2 separate regions of the Homo sapiens genome follow, and region 2 is linked to region 1. The links are contacts of gene promoters, found by promoter capture Hi-C in blood cells and fetal thymus (Javierre and others, 2016). All regions are on one chromosome and are shown on one strand. The core of a region is centred on a gene start or on the middle of the fragment in contact, and the rest is flanking DNA. Distances in the headings are between cores, read along the strand shown. Region 1 holds the start of CD53 (CD53 molecule). Region 2 has its middle 11 kb from the start of KCNA2.

Region 1 (4,231 bases), core at 791-3,290:
GGGCCGGGGAAGAAATAGCCGGCTGAGAGTTTTAAGCTGGGGAGTCATGTGATTAAATTTGCATTTTAGAAGGCTCTCCTCCCTTCTTCCTGAGGACAGACTGAAGAAACATCCAAGGTGGTCTTGAAGGACACTGGGATCCTGTAACACAGGTAAAAGATAAAGACTAATGTAATTTCTATGGGGTTGGAGAGAGGTGGTCTGGTTTGAGAAATATTTAGGCAAAAGCATAACTGACAGGACTTGGTGGCTGATAATAGGTGGTGGTGTGGGAGAGAGAGTAGCTTAAGAGGACACCTGGTTTCTCATGAACGTGGCTGAAAGGCCAGTCAGGCCTTTCCTGGATGGTGGACATGGTGGGAGGAGCAGGCTTGAGTGTGGGGATGCCAAGTTAATCAAACTGAAGTTGGATATTGGATTTGAGGTGCCTGGGAGAGAGTGGAGCTCAAAGGAGAGATCATGGCATCTATATAGATTTGTGAATCTTTGGAACAGACAGATAGTAATTAGAGCCATCAGAATGGGTGAGATAATTAGGAAAATATGAGTTCAGCCAGAAGCCTCTCCTCAGCCCCACCACTTCAGGGACCTGTAAGCATGGCAGCAGCTCTGAGTGAGGGTCAGTGATTCCAGCCGAGGTGCAGAGACTTTTTAATAGCATTCCCTAAAGTGTAGTTACACTGAAAAATTGTTCCCCAAGAGAAACTACACACACACACACACACACACACACACACACACCACACAGTTCCATGCTCAGATAAGTTTGGAGAAATCTATATATTATTTCCCCTGCTTAGAGAATATTAAGGACTGACAAGTTCTGCAGTAAAGACCTTTTTACCTTCATTTAATTCAGTTTTCCCCACAAGACAGCCCTGGCTGGAGATTACTCTGGATCTGAATGTCTCAGGGTGAAGGAAGCGGGAGACAGCTAGCTTTCCCAGAGGCATGCCCGCAAGTCAGCACCGCAGAGTGCATCTATCTGTTCATTTATAAGATGAAAACATTGGGGCCCAGTGATTGCTTCCAAGTTTCATAGTTAGCTAGTGATACATTTGGGTTGTCACATACTCCTTTGACCCAATCTAAGAAAATTCCAGTGATGCAGCATAGTGAAACCAGAAACACATTTTTCAAAATATATTGATCACAGTGTTTCTCAAAAGGCCTTCTCTGTGACCTTGAATTTTAATCCTACCTCTGACATGTCTTAGTTGTATGAGCTTGGGCAAATTTTCTAACCTCTTTGAGCGCCTGTTTTCTTGTATATAAATAAGGATGTAACAGTAACCAGTAGGATTATTATTAGGTGTTACCATTAATAAACTGAGGCTGACAGATTGAGACTTGCTCAAGATCTCACAGCTAAAAGAGATAAAGCTGGAACTGAAACTCAGATCTTTGGCTCCAAATGTGGTGTTTCCTGTACTAACCAAATCATTTCTACCAGTGCCCCTGGGATTATGCCTTGGGGACTCACCTTAAGACAGTCTTGCTCTCGAGACAGAGAAGTCTGCAAATGGTGTCCAATTCAAGTCTAGAGACTGGCTGAAGCCAGACAGAGGGAGTATGAGGAGGGGGCAGAGAATCTTCAGAAAGACATTCCAAAGTCTCGGGCCTAGAAAATGTTTAGAAATATTGGTTCCTGTGTTCCCCTCCAGTCTGTCTACCTGAATGGGAAACTGGTGGTGGGGCCAGGCATACTTCTTTTTGAACAAATACACAGTTAATTCTGAGATGCCACCTTGATTGAGAAGCACTGTCCTTTTCTAAGCAAAAATCATTGCCAAATTACCCTAGAATCCACCACTGCTCACAGATCTGTGCCTGAACCAACTTGGTTTTGAAGTTTTCTTTTGTTTCACAAAACTAGTTTAGGGTGGGCTGTGAGAGGAAGCTTCTAAAAAGCCACTGGGAAAGTACTAAATCTCTGAGACTAAAGAGGGCGGACTCAGCCTCACTTCCTCCTTCTTCTCATCTGGGCTTCCTGTCGTCACAGCATGATCATATTTTTTCACCCTTCACTTCTCCTTTTACACAAATAGCCCCGGATATCTGTGTTACCAGCCTTGTCTCGGCCACCTCAAGGATAATCACTAAATTCTGCCGAAAGGACTGAGGAACGGTGCCTGGAAAAGGTAAGGTTGATGACGTTTTAACTTGGCTTGCTGTCTAATGTGGGGTAGGGCGTATTCTTAGGGGTCTCCATATACCTCTCTAGTAACCATAAAATCTCCGGCAACTTCTCTTTCACAAATATTTAGTGCACAAAGTAAAACAGATTAGCAAGATCCTAGTAACATCCCCAAAGGCAATCAGGCCAGAAATACTTTTACTTAATCAGGTTCCCATTATCTAAATCTCTGAGTCGAGGCATTCACATGCCTTAATTGCTTCAGAGCTTGAATTACTCTGTGTAGTAATTCCTGATGCCTGGAGCTTTCTATGCGAGATGACATTGGGGAGATTTCCTATGTGCTCTGGTCTTCAGAAAATTGGTCTTGTGATTTTAAAGTGAGGAAAGAACCCACAGCCAGAGCTGTCTTTAGAAAGACAGCTAGAAGACACAGTTCTTTTTCATTTGAGAAAATTTCAAAAGTAAATTTAGTGACTCCCACTGTGGTTCTTCAAAGCCACTAAATAGAAAGGTGGCTAAAAATCAAAACACCAGGATGTGCTCAGTAACTGTATTTTAAAAGGTGAAAGCTAGACATCTCTAAAGGATGCATAGATTGTTGGCTTTTAAGGAGCAGGAAGCACATTGGGATCCTCAGCATTTCCCCAAATTATCCTTGGTGTACAAAACATGACCACTGATAAATGTCACATGAAATGCACGTATAAAATGCAATCCCCAAAACTTGATACTGCAGTAATTTCCAATCATGTGCTGTAACTAATGACTGAGGTTGCATGGACTCAGCAAAGTGTTAGCAGAGCTTCGGTCCTGACTCTCTGTGACCACCATCGGAAACTCTATGTAAGAGCTTTCTTCTTCCAAGACCTGTGAGAATTTCACTTGATTATGCCCTGGAGCAGAAAGGAGAAAGTTCTCTTTGATTACACCCACCCATCTAAGTATGAGGATTGGGAACAGGGCAGAGGGCTCTAGATTTCCAAGAGGGGTGGGGACGGGGAGAGGGCTCTGGATTCCCAAAACACCTCAGAGTTTATTGAGCCTTGTATTAAAAAATAAAAAGCAGTCTTTTAAATAAATTCACTTAATAATCAAGTGGTAGGTGCCTCCTGAGGCCAGGCACTGTGCTTTGGGAATTGTGGGGGAGGGAGATGAAAAGGTAGAAGGAGAATATTTGTCTAGCAAACAGTCCTACTCTTAAGGAACTCCCATGGGAGATAAGAGATATCATACTATGCGTGTGCTTTGGAAGAAAGCTGAGAAAAAGCAAACTCCCAGCTGCTGGACAAACAAAGAGGTTTTGCTTTCTCAATCTTGAGGAGAATCTGTACTATTTTGAAATTGTGGTTGAATGGGAGCAAAGACTGAACTGAAACATTATTTCCTGTGATGTTTCCTGTGTGGGCCAGTTAAGAACACTTAATTTTTAAATGAAAGGATTGGGTACCTTTATATTCATGAGGAATGATTCCAAGTTCATGCCTTCACAGCTATGGTTACCACCACCTAAGTGACCTCACCTTTGTTCACTGACAAGAGGCACAAACTGGAAAGGACAAAGTCTGTTGGTCCTTGGTTTTTTGTGCCCTCTGATTGACCTCTGACTGCACAGAGGCCCTCGGACTCTGGTTCTCCTTTCCCACTCCTACCCCATGGCCAGATATGGCACTTGGTGCTGGAGATACAGGATAACAGAAAAGATTATCATCTGAAAGGAGTTGTAGAGTTTATTATGGATGACAGTCACAGCAATATACAAATACAGTGCAATGTGCTCTTTTCTATAATAGATGGAGAACGTGCACAAACTGTAGGAGTTAGGAGTGTGCCAAAAACTGCCTAGAGAGGTGACTGGTGGGTTCACTTTCACAGAAGTATGGGTTTGCTATGGAGACATTCTAGACCAAGGGTGCTGTATATTCAAATTCAAAGAAGTGTGTACCTCCAGGCATGTTAGAAATGAGAGAAAGCAAGTGAGACTGCAGTGTAACACACCATGTTTACAGAGCCACATGAAGTGGAAAGCCCTTTCTCCTACTTGGCACCAGAAAGTGGAGGGCAAGATCGCTCACCAGGCAGGTCCTAGGTCCA
Region 2 (4,507 bases), core at 899-3,398, 260 kb before region 1:
GCAGATGAATGCATATACCTCCTTTATCTCCACTGGCACCATGGGTCCTCCTACTGTCACTATTTTGCTGAGAGGACATCAAGGCTCAGAGGTCATAGGACCTGCTCAAGGTTGCATGGCTCTAGTAAGTGGCAGAGCTGGGATTCCAGCCCAGACTTTGCTGATCCCCACATCAACCGTTACCCCAACACATGTCACTGCCTGTTTAAAAGGGAGAAAGGACTTTCAAAGATGCCAAATCATTTTGAAAACGAATCCTGCAAACATTCCAAACAGTGCAAACCTGATGCTCAGTGCATCTTAATGATGTTCTCTGAGTCCAAGAAGGGTCATTACAAAGGGAACACAGGGAATCTTTGACTCTGAGGCCTTGCAGAAAGGGGCTGAAATTGCAGTGAGGAGTTTCCTGAAGTTCAACCTGAGGAAAATGACTGGCCCTACTGGAAGTTTCATGGCCTAAGGCACCCAAAGGCGACCTGTAAGATCACAGCAGGGCCCGCCTGCCACACACCACTTACCTAGGGCCTTACCTGAATGCTAAGGAAGTAGAATTAGAGGCATGAAAGACTAGGTAGAAAACAGTTGGATAAAAAAACGTGTTTGTTGAATGGAGTAAACTCTTGTGTGGACAGGCAGTGGGGCTTGCCCTGGGAACTCAAATCTGAGGCTCTGGAGTGACTCAGCCTCTCTGGCTCAAGTATTTTTATTTTTATTTCAAACATACATATTTTCTGAATTGATTAAAAGAACAAAACATCCTAAGTCCCCTACTCCCAAACTCTCCTGCTATGAGGAGGTTGAAGGTGGTCACTAGAATGGGGCTATTAGAAAGATTTTCTTTGCCACCAGATGTTCCGCTCCTGATCTTCCTTAAAGGCAATCCCTTGGCACTACTTGTTAGTGTCAGCAACAGTGATGCTTTGGTGCTTCGATCGACCCAAGTCTTTGAAGCAGGGGAGGGAAAGGTAGACAAGTGAGGAGGTGGCTAAATCATCCTGGCATTCCTGGTGTTGCAGAACCAACGTGTATCTAGAAGAGTACAGGGAAGATGACTTAGGAGTGGAAGAGAGCCTGGGGCACAAACGACAGCTAGGAGGAGGGACAGAGGGTCGGGGCGCCTGGGGAGGAGAACCTCTGTGGTTTCCTGTCCCTCTCACACTCGCAACCAGGAGTCTTGGGATGCTTGCTGTTCACCTGAAATTCTAGGCTCATCCAACAGTGCCACCCAATGGCCACATGGGTGCAGGGACGTGCCTAAGGAAGTGGAAACCAGATGGGAGGAGAAAAGAGCCTCACCAATTCAGAAAAAGAGAGACCTGAGTTTCTTTCTGCCTTGAGGATGTGGTATAGGGCTCTCCAGGGGTCTTTGGACCTGGGCAGAGCCATGCTTTAAGGGTTCTGCATGCCTCAAAGGAATTCCTCTCTTCTCTGAACTCTGGCCATTAGAATCTGCTGGGTTAAATCAGGGACTCTGTAACCTGCAGATCCCCAAGTCAGCCTGGAGAGATGGGGCATCTGTAGCCCCTGGCCCAGGCTTCACTTCCTGAGATGATGAGGGGCTGGCAATGCAGCCCCACCCCCACCCCCACCACCCAGGTTCATCTAGTCAGGGTCAGGGGCCGTGGCAGTTGTCAGGTCAGCTCTGTGGGACAGCGGGGTAGAGGGTGGAAGTCAGAATGTGGAGTGACTTCATAGGGGGCTGCGCATCACTTCCCTTCTCTTCCAGCTGCACCTTTCCAAAGTCCAGGAGCTTTCAGGAAATAAGAAAAAGTTCTTTCTTTAAGAAACATGGGACCCCAGAGTTAGATCATAAATAAGCCAGCATGGTTCCTAAGGAAAAAACAACAGAGCCTGGGAACAACCGAGCCAGGGTCTAACTGAAACTCTCCAGGCTATGTGAGAAGGATAATTCCTAACAGAGGCAGGTGCTATGTTCACTCCCATTCAACAGTTACAGAAACAAGCTTGGTGAGGCTGAGTGGCTTGCCTGTAGCCACATAGCCAGCAGCTGGGTGCAAAAGGCAGGAGCTGAGTCATGGTCTGTCCTCTAGCCCCGGCTCTAAACCAGGCATCGAGCCAAGCACTGTGGGGGACACACAGAGCGTGGCACAGAGGAGGTGCTTGATAAATACTAGTTCCTTCCCTAGAAGGATGGATAAGGAAGCAGAATTGTCAACAATTGACTCTAACCCAAGGCAGAATGAATTGGCTTAAATTGAAGAATAAAGTACAAAAGCACCTAAGAAGAGGAAAGCCTTCACCAAGGATGGAAATTGAGAGATGTCTTTACGGAGGAGCAGAATGTCCAAAGACCCCGAAAGAGGTGTTGAAGTGAAGCTTGGGCATTCTTCATGGGCAATCTGCATGCCTCACTGCCTGCTTCATTCATTCACTCCCTGGAGAAGGGCTCTCTGCAACAGCCTATCTCACACTGTGTGAGGAGGGATTTTGAGGATTTTGTTCTCTCCTGTACCCCCAGTGCCTGGAGCACACTGGGAGCTTAATACATATTTGTGAGCTAAATACCCAAATGGGTGAGTGGATTCCAGGAAAAAGGCACAACAGGGACAGACCAGAGAAGCAGCCTCACCTGTGCCAGGGACTCTGCGCCAGATGGAGTGCCAGGAGCGAGCAGTGTGGGAGGACATGGTAAAATGAGAGGTCGATGGGGGAAGACTGAGAAAGGCCTTGAAGTCATGCTGAGGAGTTCAGGTTGTCCTGTAGGTGATAGGGAGCCATTGAGAGTTCTGAGTGGGAGAGACAGGATCCAATCTATGTTTCAGAAAGATAACTTGGGAAATGTGGAGTATAGTGGAAAGGATGGGTCTAAGAGCAGAGGCAGGAAACTGGTAAGGAGGAGGTTGCTTCCCCTCAGAGATGTCAAGGGTCTGGACTCAGGCCATTTGTTCAATAGGTGAACGGTAGAAGGGATGAAGGCAGTGATGAAGAGAAAAGCACCAAAAGGGAGACATTACAGGGAGTGTAGGATTCAGTGATCAGCGAGATGGGAGAGGGAGAGAGAGTGTGGAGGGGCCGCCACAGGGCTTCAGAGAGGTGGTGTGCGAAGTGCATGTGCACCTGTGTGTGTGCACTCATGCATGTGTCGAGGGATGGAGCTCACATGGTGGGCAGTTCTGACATACATGGGGGTTTGTGGGGCTGCTCTGATGGGCCTGTTCCTTGTCAACAGGGCAGATGGCAATGCTGGCCTGATGCTCAGGAGAGAGGTAGAGGGTAGGGAATGGAGAGTTGAAAGTCATCATCATGGAGGGGTCATTGAAGCCAAGGGTGAGAATGAGATCCCCCAGGATGAGAATGTAGATGGAGTGAGAAGAGCAGAGAGGGCCTGGGTGCGGCGGCTCATGCCTGTAATCCCAGCATTTTGGGAGGCCAAAGCAGGAGGATTGCTTGAGGCCAGGAGTTTGAAACCAGCTTGTGCAACATAGTGAGACCCTGTCTCTACAAAAAATAATTTAAAAAAATTATCTGGGCATGATGGCACCCACCTGTAGTCTTAGCTACTTGGGAGCCTGAGGTGGGAGGATCACTTGAGTCCAAGAGTTCGAGGTTACAGTGAGGTATGATCGTGCCACTGCACTCCTGGCTGACATGTGAGTGACCTGTCAGTGTGTGAGAAAAGGCATTTTATCCTCTTTTAATTCCTCTCTGGAGAGTGGAGCCTAGAACCCTGACTGCCTCTGACCTTGCCGTCCAGTTAGGGTGTGGCCCTGGAATGTGGCTGCCTTCCCTCAGTTCTTTCCCTGTGGAATTGCTGCTCTGTGTGGGCTTCCTTTCCTTTCGGAGGTAGGATGAGGCAGCTTGGGTGGCCCTCAGATGGGAAAAAGACCCAGGAGAGCCACGAAAGGAACATAAGGAGAGGATGGAGAGGGTAGAGAGCCCTGCTCAGGTGCACCGAACATCATGACTTAGAGTCTAATTGGCAGCTCAAACATGGCACATCCCAAACCAAATTCTTGCTTCCTTCCCATGCCCCCACACCTGAACCCCCATCCCTCTGAGTAGCACCACTCCTCCCTCATCCAGTTGCTCAGGCCCAAACCCCGGGACACAGCCTTTGGCTAATCCAACAGGGATTCCTATGGCCTCTGCCTTCAGACCATCTTCTGAACCAGATGTCTTATCTCTTCCGGCAGGCGAAGCAAACCTGGCCCCAGATGCTCTACTCTCACCTGGGCTCCTCACAGGCCTCCCTGTTCCTATTCATGCCCTCGCAGAAGCCAGAGTGATTTTATAAACAACATAAATCGAGTTGTTTTATGCCTTTGTTCAAAGTCCAGTAGTTGTTCACTACTCTCAGAACTAAGCCTGAAGTCCTATGGCCCAGAAGGCTCTGTACCGTCTGTCCCCTGGACACCTTTCTGACTTCATTTCCAACCACCCTCTGCAGCTGCCTCCTTCCTGGTCTCCACACCCAAAGAATGCATCCCTGTGGCCTGGCTGTCCCCACTCCCTGGGAGACTGTACCCCCAAACATGCTCATGACTTG

Evidence for each region. The method cuts DNA at HindIII sites, captures the fragments that hold promoters and counts their contacts. A CHiCAGO score of 5 or more calls a contact.
Region 2: a contact is called between a fragment that was not itself captured here and the fragment with the promoter of CD53 in region 1, in 1 of 17 cell types (total CD8 T cells). The highest score is 5.6, in total CD8 T cells.

What each region holds. Positions count from the first base shown.
Region 1 is chr1:110,871,108-110,875,338 of GRCh38, forward strand. It overlaps CD53 (CD53 molecule), which reads left to right and starts at 2,041. Exons shown (of 8, transcript NM_000560.4): 1 at 2,041-2,141. It also overlaps a transcript of LRIF1 not described here. RefSeq lists enhancers at 1,242-1,291, 1,892-2,001, 3,514-3,563. The HindIII fragment of the contact is 4,495 bases long and covers 1,899-4,231 here.
Region 2 is chr1:110,614,716-110,619,222 of GRCh38, forward strand. It overlaps a transcript of KCNA2 not described here. Among named protein-coding and RNA genes, the nearest start is that of KCNA2, 11 kb to the left of the region's middle. The HindIII fragment of the contact is 373 bases long and covers 1,963-2,335 here.